Regions from separate parts of the Homo sapiens genome. Here regions 1 and 2 are each linked to region 3. Evidence: promoter capture Hi-C in 16 types of primary human blood cells and fetal thymus (Javierre and others, 2016). All regions are on one chromosome and are shown on one strand. Each heading gives the region's core, a stretch centred on a gene start or on the middle of the fragment in contact. The rest is flanking DNA. Distances are from core to core; before and after follow the strand shown.

The links. The method cuts DNA at HindIII sites, captures the fragments that hold promoters and counts their contacts. A CHiCAGO score of 5 or more calls a contact.
Region 1: a contact is called between the fragment with the promoter of RPP40 here and the fragment with the promoter of TPMT in region 3, in 4 of 17 cell types (total CD8 T cells, naive CD8 T cells, total CD4 T cells and 1 more). The highest score is 10.6, in total CD8 T cells.
Region 2: the fragment with the promoter of GMDS here is called in contact with the fragment with the promoter of TPMT in region 3 in 1 of 17 cell types (non-activated CD4 T cells); the score reaches 6.2 in non-activated CD4 T cells.

What each region holds. Positions count from the first base shown.
Region 1 is chr6:5,001,878-5,005,500 of GRCh38, forward strand. RPP40 (ribonuclease P/MRP subunit p40) reads right to left here and starts at 2,160. Exons shown (of 8, transcript NM_006638.4): 1 at 2,003-2,160; 2 at 224-368. The coding sequence starts at 2,125. It overlaps LYRM4-AS1 (LYRM4 antisense RNA 1), which reads left to right and starts at 1,939. Exons shown (of 4, transcript NR_126015.1): 1 at 1,939-2,082. RefSeq lists silencers at 1,761-2,010, 2,141-2,270. The HindIII fragment of the contact is 5,117 bases long and covers 1-3,623 here.
Region 2 is chr6:2,243,062-2,246,854 of GRCh38, forward strand. It overlaps GMDS (GDP-mannose 4,6-dehydratase), which reads right to left and starts at 2,544. Exons shown (of 11, transcript NM_001500.4): 1 at 2,260-2,544. The coding sequence starts at 2,361. It overlaps GMDS-DT (GMDS divergent transcript), which reads left to right and starts at 2,692. Exons shown (of 7, transcript NR_046229.1): 1 at 2,692-2,869. RefSeq lists an enhancer at 2,186-2,686 and a silencer at 2,187-2,816. The HindIII fragment of the contact is 5,746 bases long and covers 1-3,793 here.
Region 3 is chr6:18,152,898-18,156,457 of GRCh38, forward strand. TPMT (thiopurine S-methyltransferase) reads right to left here and starts at 2,180. Exons shown (of 9, transcript NM_000367.5): 1 at 2,136-2,180. KDM1B (lysine demethylase 1B) reads left to right here and starts at 2,525. Exons shown (of 22, transcript NM_001364614.2): 1 at 2,525-2,674; 2 at 2,986-3,029. RefSeq lists a silencer at 2,226-2,785 and an enhancer at 3,226-3,465. The HindIII fragment of the contact is 1,618 bases long and covers 1,448-3,065 here.

The DNA.
Region 1 (3,623 bases), core at 910-3,409, about 13 Mb before region 3:
ATCCCCATCCAACACTTGTGGCCAATTGCAATCAGAAACCACCACCTAAAGAGGGTACAAGAAAGAACAGGATGAGAATGCGGGGGAGAACGCGTGTGCACCTGACCACACAGACTATACCACAGGCCCTGTTTGAAACAAAACAACAGCCCTAGCATCGTGATGTGGTCTCCCTACCCTTCCTCATCCAGCCTTGTTCACAGCCATTTCAGGTTTTTCTTACCTTTCTTTATAAAGGTACTGATGAATTCAGGTGTAATTAATTCATGAAGAGGTAAATTCTTCACAAAGTAATAGGGTCCAGTGTTCATGACCAGGTTTTTCAGTTCTTCCGATAGTATCCCACATTCAGGAATGAGAAATGAAACCTATTGGAATGTGTAATACAAACAAGGTCTTACTTCCATGAAGATGAACACCCAGGTTTTTAGGAATGAAACAAAATCATGAAAGTTGTTATTTCTCCACGAGTTTCACTGGAACATAAAAACACGGGCAACAAAACTCTTATGTTAACTTACCTATCTCAGGCAAAGAGAAATCTGACTACTTAAGTTTTTCATTTCTGCATTCAAACGTACAGTACAGGAAGGGGATTGAACAGAATACTTTTAATGGAAAACTCGTGCTTGCATTTAATCTTTTGCAAATTAGCAATGCTGTATATTTTATGTCCTGTTCCTTTCACTATTTTATTTTCAAGGAAATATAGTATAATTGAATATCCCTTGATTTGTTTACCCTGGTGTTATCCTGGAATGAAACAAACTATCTGTCGGGGCATAAGGAATTAATTTATGGACATCCAATTACTAAGAATCTATGTGCAAGCAATGGTGCTCCTGTATGTTTTCATTTTCGAGACAGAAAAATGCAACAGGCGAGTTAAAGTATACATCCCTGACTGCTGTGATGAGCTTGACATCCAAAATAGGTGTTAAAAACAGGGCAGGCTTCAAATGTTGCCACATTGTAAAAGTCATCACTGTCCCAAGGCTCAAACACCAGCCTGTTCTGACTGATCAGGTCACCACTTAACATCTCTGAAACACTGCTCAGTCAAACCTGAGTTATTAAGCTGATCCATTTAAAGTGTAAAATGTTTAATCCCCCATGATAAGGTTAGTTTCTTGAAGTCTCTCAGATATCAAATTAGTTCCAACAACCAATTTAGAAAATCAGTCGCTTCGGCCGGGCGCGGTGGCTCACGCCTGTAATCCCAGCACTTTGGGAGGCCGAGACGGGCGGATCACGAGGTCAGGAGATCGAGACCATCCTGGCTAACACGGTGAAACCTCGTCTCTACTAAAAATACAAAAATTAGCCGGGCGTGGTGGCGCGCGCCTGTAGACCCAGCTACACGGGAGGCTGAGGCAGGAGAATGGCGTGAACCCGGGAGGCGGAGCCTGCAGTGAGCCGAGATCGCGCCACTGCACTCCAGCCTGGGCGACAGAGCGAAACTCCGTCTAAAAAAAAAAAAAAAAAAAAAAGGAAAATCAGTCGCTTCCTGGGCCGAGCCTAGGCAGGATGCTCTGGTGAGATCCACAGGTACGCAGGTGGGAGAGGGATTCAAGCTGGGGAGGAGGCAGTGGTGGGGAGGAGGCGCGAGACCCGCCCTGATTTGGGGAAAAAGCGAGGTGCACGTGGCTGCCCCACAGCCTAACTCCCTGGTCCCGGCCCTGAACCTCGAATCCCTCCCTGGACTCACTCCCAGTTCGGCGGGTTGACACGAGTGAGCAGCCAGAACGCCCCTGACAACAGCTCCCTCCAGACTGGGTACCGCCCCCACGCCCGGCGCATCCTGGGAGTTGTAGTCCTGTAGCCCTGCAAGCCACTGGCTTAGAGCAGTTAAGAGACTACAACTCCCAGCAAGCCGGGCGAGGGCCCCGCCCCTCCGCGTACCGCCGGCGGCCCCGCCCCGCGAAGCCTAGCACTCTCCCCAAACCTCTCTCGCACGCGGGGACTGAGCACGGCCCGAAAAGCCGAGGACAGCCGGACTCACCCTGTAGTTATAGTAGTGCGTCTGCACAAGATGCCGGTGGCGCGACTTGTGGTTGCCGAAGTTGGATTTCTCGCAAACCAGTAAGTGCCGCGGCGCCTCCCGAAGCCGGCGCAGCGTGGCCATGCTCTCCTGGGTTCCTGGTCCTCCCGGCCTCCGCTGGCGGGGCACGCCCCGCCCCTTCCTCCCGCCCCGCCCCTTCCCTCCGGCCGCATACCCGCTGCTGTGCGCCCCTGGCGGCGGTGGAGTGGGGATGGCGGCGCTGGATTTCTGAGCAGTTCTTAGACTTCTTAGGAGCCCACGCAGCCGCTCTTTGGTGGATGTCTGAAGCTGTAAATTCACTGTCCCAGTGGCTGGGAACCTGGCTCTTGCCTTTTCAACGCCACTTTTCCTCCGTCCCCGCCATCCCTTGGAATTGCCCTAAACCCTCTCTGTGGGCCCCGCCTCGGAGCGCCCCTTGGACCCCAGCCTGGCGCCGGCGCATACCTCGGTCAGGCCCCTCAGAGGGACCGCTTCCTGCCACCGTTATAAAAGGAAAACATCGCATGGAAAGGCCCAGTTCCTTTAGTATATGGTCAAGAAATGTAGCCGCACAGTTAAGTAACCCCCTAAGCTGCTTTGGGGGCCACACCCAGCTGCTTTCTGACTTCTCACACTGTTTGGTTCACAGGACTCTGTTACCCATTGGGGACCTCTTGGCCATTATTAACACAGGCCAACAGGACTAAAAGTTTGTATCAGTCCTTCCCAAAACATTAGGGAAGGTTGTGCGGGAAGGTAAAGCACAATTTTTGCCTTACAATAGGACTCCTTTGAAACTACTATTGAGTTCCCTTTTAAATAGCCCTTCAGAACCGCTTTTAATAATGTGTTGTTTCTGGGGGTTAATAGTGATAATTCTCCTAAGTCATTTTTCCATTTCGTTTTTCTGTCACGGGCTTGGAGCGGTTAAGAGACTGCGGCTCCCAGCATGCGGTACGTTACTGATCAGGGCAAAATCAAGTATGTTACTACATGCTTCTCAAACTAGAGAGGCACAGCCCCAATTCTGCACTGGCAGGATACAAAACAGCAGAATATTGGTGATACATCTTCCTGGAACATCAGTTTTTCTATGAGATGTGGAAGAAATGGAATTAAGTAGTTTACAAGGTAAATAATTAAGAATTTAAAACTAAGCCAGTCACAGTGGGTCATGCCTGTAATCCCAGCACTTTGGGAGGCTGAGGTGGGAGGATCACTTGAGCTTAGGAGTTCAAGACCAGCCTGGGCAATATAGTGAGACCCCATCTCCAAAAATAAAAATAAAACTAAGACAAGGCTGGAAAGTCATCTGCCATTATAAACATCAGTAATCTGGCCGAGCACAGTGGCTCACGCCTGTAGTCCCAGCACTTTGGGAGGCTGAGGTGGGAGGATCACTTGAACTCAGAAGTTCACGACCACCCTGGACAATATAGTAAGACCCCATCTCAAAAAAAAAAATTAAAACTAAGACAAGGCCGGAAAGTCATCTGCCACTAAAAACATCGGTAATCTGGCTGAGTGCTGTGGCTCACGCCTGTAGTCCCAGCAATTTGGGAGGCCGAGGCGAGCAGATCGCCTGAGGTCAGGAGTTCAAGAC
Region 2 (3,793 bases), core at 1,294-3,793, about 16 Mb before region 3:
CCAATGCAACACCAAATGAGGAGACAATGCAGAGGGCAGATGCCGGAGGGAAGAAAGAAACACTGGGGCAGAGATTCAACCCAACCTGAAAGCCATGCAGGTGTTTTAAGTTGGAAATGAAATGAGGAACCAAAAAATTCCAGTCAGGGAGTGGTCTGCTGAGTGTGGTGCTTCAGGTAGACTCCCATGACAGGCTGCAGGACAAACTAGAGTGGGGGCCCACTTCCATACCTTCCTGGCCACTCAGTTCCAGCCAAATGACTGCTCTTAAAAGTCAAAATTAGGTTCCATTTCTAATCTGCACTGATTCATACTGCTGGTCGTGTAAATTGGTATAGGCCACACCAACACAGCACATTAGTTAAGATGTTAATCTTAACTAATTTCCGGACAATACTAAAATAAAATCTCTACTTTCCAGAGATTAGGTAAACTTGGTAAACATTTGAGCTTCAGGTCCAGTCTGACAAAATGGAAAAAAGGGAATCATCTGCAGAAAGGTCCCAGCATTAGAAAACAAAGAGAAGGGGGAGGACAGTATGTAGGCCCTGACCTGTCTTACTGCCTCAATTCAAGGATTCAATTTCTCAACCTCAGATCCTTGCCCTCTTACTAGTTTTCAAACTCAGATCCACCTCTTACTAGTTTTCAAACTCTTGTCTATTATGATTACCTTAAGCAAAGCAAGATGCATGAATAACCAGCAGTAAATCAGGTATTCAATACTTGAAATTGTGTAATATTCTGTGACTGTGCATCTGGCCAATTTCAACTTCTCCTTCTTTTTTTTTTTTTTTTTTTTTTTTTTTTTTTTTGAGGCAGGATCTCACTCTCTTGCCCCAGGCTGGAGTACAGTGGTACCATCATTGCTCACTGCAGCAGCCTCAGACTCCCGGACTCAAGTGATCCTCCTGCCTCAGCCTCCTGAGTAGCTAGCACTACAGGTGAGCACCAACATGCCTGCCTCATTTTTTAAATTTTTTTGTAGAGACAACGTCTCAATATGTTGCCCAGGCTGGTCTCAAACTCCTGGCCTCACCTCGAGCAATCCTTCCACCTCTGCACACCGAAGTGCTGAGATTTCAAGTATGAGCCGCTGCCTCCTGCCCACTTAGCCCTTTCTAACACTAGAGAACTTTGAGAGTGGTTTCAATACCAACTGGACACTTCCCAGCGGTTTAACCTCAGGCAAATCAAACTCCCATGCCTCAGTTTCCACATATATAGAGATAATAAAAGTACCTCCTCAAAGAGTTTGTTATGAGAACTAAATGAGTTAATGTTAGGCAAGCGACTGGAACATGATAGACACAATATGTATTAGCCATTATCACCTTTATCTCAGTGTTATATTGGCCACCACCCAGAGATACCCAGGAGCACACACATCACATTCTTTCTACAGCAATATGTGGGCACGATTACTTCATGACCACTGAATCTAAAACAGCACAGCTTGGTAAGACACAGCGGTCGGATCCCACCTACTGCAACACCTCTAAGAGGCGACCCTCACAAACCAGCCATGCTTAGCCTGAGACATTCCGAAGACCTCCTCTTGATTACCTTACTCGACGAACTTATTCCTTTGAAAATGGAACTAGCCGCACTTTTGGACCAGTGTGCCTCGGATACACTTCCAAATGTGTCAACCTGAATCTCAGAAGTTGGCGTGATTTTAAAAAGTTTTTTAAGTTCTTTTTCCTAAACATGTCCTAGTAGGTGACTCCACAGCATTACTTTCTTTCATGTTCTCTTTTCTATCTGGAAATCCGGTGATAGGGGACGAAACCAGCAAAGCACCCTTTTTCTTGCTTCCCAAACGTTAGCAGGTAAGCGCCCCTTGAGCCGAGACACATCAAGAAGACCTCACCCGCAAGTTCATTGATCACCGGTTCTTTTCCCTTTCCGGCACTAGGAGCTGCGAAGCACGACATGGGCTTGGAGGAAGAGACGCTGCGGTCACCTGAGGGGCAGGTGAGAGCGGGCGGTCCTGCCCGGGTGTGAGCGCGACATCCCGCGCGGCACACACGCTCACAGCCCCCAGAGAAAGACCAGAGGCGCTCGATGTATCCCGCACACCCCACACGCAACACACTAACTGCACCGTACCTTCCGTCCCACCTCCCGGCAGCAGACCCCTTCCGGGACGCCGAGAGGGCTGTTCCTGGAGAGACCGCAGCCCACGAGTAGCGGCGCGTAGGGAGAGCACGCGTGCCCAGGCTGCCTCGGCCGGCGCGCCCCCGCCCCCGCACTCACCTGGCCTGTGATACCGGTGATGAGCGCCACGTTCCTGGGCTTGCCCATCTCGCCGTCCCCGGAGCCCCGGGCGCTGGGGCAGCGTGCCGGTGCGTGTGCCATGTCCCGCGGCGGGCGTGCGGTCGGCGGCAGGGCGGAGCGCGGCAGAGGGCAGGCGCGGTGCCGGCAGGAACGCGGGGGTGTGCAGCACGAAGCGCCTCTCCAGGCTGCGGGCAGGGAGGGAGAGCGCACCGCGCGACCGGCCGCCACAGTCTGACAGGGGCGCACGGGAGGCCGTGCAGGGAGGGCCGGGGGCGGGCCGAGCCGGCCAAGGCGGGCCCGACGGGCCAAGCAGCGGGGCTGCGGCCTGACTGGCGCAGCGTCATTCGCGTCAGCCGGCGACGCTGTAGCAGGCCCCGCCCCTCCGCCGACGGCCACCGCGCGGGAGGGGCGGGGCCTGCCGCCGCCACCGCCTCAGGGAAGAGGAAGGAGGCCGCGGCTTCGCGTCCCGCCTCTCGCCTGGCTGGCCGTGGGGGGCCTGGACGCAGTGGCCTCCCGAATCTCCCAGGACCCTAATATCGCCCGAGGATGCTGGGAGGAACGCTGAGCCGACCTCTCCGTTAGGCTGAAGGTCTGAATTTTCAAACCCAGGGGTCACAGGGCCGGGGTCATGGACTTTGATAAATAATTCCTGGAAACCTGTTGCAGTGCCCTTTGAGAAGCCCGGTTTATGGTACCTGAAGGGCAGTAGCGTACAAGGCCCGTAAACGGGGGTCACAGATGTGGGAGTGACTAACTAGGCTGGCTCTCGCTCTTCTGGCCTTTCCTGAGGCTCGGAACCAGTAACGAGGTTCCAAATAGCTGAATTCAAAGTTTTCTCTTCTGAGGACTGCCAGTGCACAAGAAAGTCCCTAGCCCCACCCGTATGCGGCATAAGGAAATGTTGAAAAGACTGCCCGGGTCAATAAACCTGGACGTGGCAGATTTCAAAGAAAGTAATTCAAACACAGGTGGGGTCCCGGCTTACATCTGTTGGATTTGGCTGCCATTTGGCAGCTGCTCGTTGGACAGGGAGAGGAGAGGAGGTGACTCAGAGCCGGGAGGGCAGCAGGTGTGTGTGCCTAAGCAGTTGGCTGCAATCCAGGACACAGACGGAAACTTCCCGGTCTCCGTTGCTCTGCTTCTCTGTCCACATTCCTCTCCCTAATCGATAACTTCAGATCATCATTTCAAATCACAGAGTTACTAGGGCTGTGCCCAATATAACGTGCAAGAGTATGTATAGCAGACCTGGAACCCCAAAATCAGAAAAGCTCAGGATTACATTTAAAACCTCCCTCTCGCGCTCCTCGAGGTCCGTTAGGAATATTTCTTAGCTATAGATAGACTGGTCTGGTTTCACACCTGGCCTCTCCTCTGCGTTCTATGAGGAGAATGGCTCAACAAACATCTGATGGTGCCTCTGAGTGATGAAGAGACCCTGAAGCTGAGGAGAGGGAACACTTCCATTGAGAGGAACATGCTATAAGCTAGAAATGTCTGTGAAATATACGGG
Region 3 (3,560 bases), core at 930-3,429:
CAGAATGGTTCTGGCCAGTCTACTGAGAATGCACAGTAAGGGTTTTTCTGTCCTCTGCTTCACCTTTTGATATAAGAGGGCCAAAAACTCCATCCTGTGATTGTGGTAACACCGCCATTTTTTGTGCATGGTACCCATGAAGCTCAATTACTCATGGGTACTTTCCTCCTTTCATAAATATTCATGAGTCATCCTACAGCTTACTGAATATGTATATTTGGCCACCTTCCTCAGCATAAATTCCTGTTCCCTTTGCCCCTCCCTGGAAGTGTCAGTTTCTGGCTTCTGGCCTGCGGCTACACTTCTCAGCCAGTCAGAATGGCTGCTCTACAGTCTGAAACCATTCATGAGAAAGAGTTCTCCTTTCTAAATTATGAACTTCTCATTCTTCAGCTGACAGACCATAACTGCAGATCCATCTGAATGTATGAGGAAAATGCCTTTCCTTTCAATGTCAACTCTGCAATATTAAGGACAATATAACACCATTATTCTAACATTCCCTTTAAATCATTAGTGAAACTAGTTTGGATTATACTAGCATGCTATTATTGGTGGTTCTAATTTAATGATTAATCTGTGAAATAGCAAACATTGCATAAAAGCATGTATTTCAGGCAAATTTCCCCTTTTGTTGCCAAATTTGGCCTCAGTATGCTTAGGATATAGGGAGGAGGCATTTCTCTCATTACCTGGGAACATGAATTCACTTCTTAGCAAATATTTGTTGACAAATGGCTTCTGCAAGACCCTGATGGTATCAGGAGGTGACTCTGAGTTTTCTGAGAGGTCAGTAGAAAGTATCTGATTTATATTGGGTACAGAAAAGCAAAAGAATGTTGCAGTTTTCTCATTTTCATTCAGAAACTCTGGAACCTAAATTCAAGGCTTCATAAAGCAGTTCTCTACTTAAAAGAGAAGCATAATCTTTATCAGAGTTCCACAGCAGCCTGGAGTAGCACAACTCTATTCCTTTCACACAAACTTGAACTGTCTAACAAAATCATGCACATAACTTAATCATGTCTTAGTTGTTTGTTTTTGAGACAGGGTCTCTCTCTATCCCCCAGGCTGGAGTGCAGTGGTGTAATGACACTTCCGTCTCCAACACTGGGGCTCAAGCGATCCTCTCACTTCAACCTCCTGAGTACCTGGGACTATAAGGGTGCACCACCATGCCTGGCTAATTTTTAAATATTTTGTAGAGACAGGGTCTTGCTATGTTACCCAGGCTGGTCTCAAACTCCTGGGCTCAACGTCTTAGCTGTTCTAACAGTTTCTCAGCATGGACTCCACTTGTATACATCATTTCTAGAGAAATAAAGTTTATTTCTATAATACAAAAAAAGTGCACATTACAAGAATTAAGGAAGGGAAATTTCACAAAAATTTCTGCCCACAAACAAAGTCCTCAAGTTGTTCTAGTCTCCATTCTCACCTTTTCAAAAGCTTCTGCTATAGTTTTGTTTTTAAATTTCATAAAATTGAGAAGAAACTTTCCTAAGGTGCACACATCTTAAAAGAGTATGACTCGGTGAATTTTTTACATATACATACACCTGTGTAACCACCGCAGAGCAAGACAGAATATTTACAGCACCCCAGTTTCCCACATCACCAGGGATCACTCACTATTTGGCAGTACTTATTTTTTCCCAAAAATCACTAATACACCAGGCTGGGGAAAAAACCGAGAGTCCGTTTCTATAAAAAAAAATTTGAAAAATTAGCCAAGCGTGGTGCAGCGAGCCTGTAGTCCCAGTTACCGAGGAGGCTGGGGCGGGAAGATCACTTGAGCCCAGGAGTTCCAGGTTACAGTGAGCTATGATTGTGCCACTGCACGCTAGCATGGGCGACAGAGGGAGACCCTGTCTCTAAAAGAAAAAAGAAAAAAAAATAATTAAAACACACCAGTGCTTTGGAAGCACTTTAAATCCTGGACATTGGATTCAGGTCATTTACTGTCCGACCTCGTTATTCCCAGTTTCCGCTTCTGCCCTGAACCCCACTTCACAGGGCTGATTGCTAGGCTGTCTACGCTTGTAAGAATTCCTGGGAGCCCTAGCACGGGCGCATACACTCCTAGCAAATCGTTCCCTTTCTCACCCGCACCCTCCGCGCCCGAGTGAGCCTACCTCGCTTACAGCTGGTTGCCGGCCATTGCCTCCGCCACCAATGACGTCCCCAGGGGCGGGTACGCCTCCGCTTCCACCTCCGCCACTTCTCCGCGCCCCGCCTCCGCCCGCGCCCCGCCTCCGCCCGCGCCCCGCCTCCGCCCGCGCCCCGCCTCTTTCCCGCGCCCCGCCTCTTTCCCGCGCCCCGCCTCAGTTCCCGCCCCCTCTCCCGGCGCCCCGTCTCCACTCCCGCCCCGTACCTCGTTGCACAGACTCCACCCACTTCCCCAAGCGCCGGGGTTTGCGCAGCGGCGGAAATGGGCAGGGCGGAGCGAGCGCTGCGGCTAAAGCGAAGGCGGGGACCCTACCCATCCCTAGTCCTGTCGGCTCCTCCCACCCCGGGTCACGCCGTGACAGGGGCGGAAGCGGCGGCGGCGGCGGCGGCCGAGAAGAGGCTGGGGCTCGCGGCGCGGCTGCAGCCGTCCTGTGCGCGCGGCGCGCGGCTCCGGAGAGGCGCCCGCAGTCCAGGGCGGCGCGCACCGCCTCGCTGGCGCTCAGAGGTGGGAGGCTCCCCACTCCGGGGGCGTGCGTGGGGGCCGTGGCGGATTTCGGGTGACAGCGTTGCACAAAGCAGCTTGGTTGGGGTGCAAGCCCTCCCTTTCCCCCTGTGCAGCGCCCCTCGCCGTGGTGGGAGGTGGGCGGGTGCCCCAGGGACGGATACCTCCTGCCCCGGATTAAAAGAGGGTGCGGGGTGGGTATCTGTCTGAAGAAGGGGGAATTCCCGGGCTAGGGTGTTGGGGCGTGGGGTCGCCGGGTTCGTCGCGATGTTGCCGGTCGGCTAACCCCCCTACAATGTTTCCTTTCTGTACAGCGGTGCCTTTTCCCCGAGACTCCCGGCACCTCTTCAGCGCAAAGGTGAGCCCCGGGGCAGTTGCTTCTCCGACTTCGAAAAGCTTCCGAAAGCTTCTCGGAAAGCGAGGCGGCTGCAGCTGGCACCGGGAGTTTGGGGCTCCCTCCTGGGGACTGTCAGAGCCGCGGGAGAACCCCACGGTCCTGGAGTAGGAACTCCCTCGCTTGTTCTTCCCGGCCGATAGGGTGCGGCCAGGAGCCCGCACAGCCTTGCAGGTGTTGTAGTAATTCTCTGGCACAGCCACCACGCGTTGAGACTTGATGAGCATTGCCAGGTTGCTGGGGTAACTCCTCTGGGATTGGAGACCTGGAGGAGGGGTGGCCCGATTAGGGTAGCTGTTAGTCAACGGCCGGGCAGCTGACAGGTGAAAGAGGAAGGAAGAGGCCGACCCAGCTGTAGAAAGTTGGGGTTCAGTGATGTGGAAACCAGCCACATAGAAGTCCAGTCTTCCCTTGGGTAAGCCTGCAGGACTCCCCAGTCCACTCCAGTTGGGGAATCCCCCACACCACGTATACACACATAACTCAAGGCTTTGA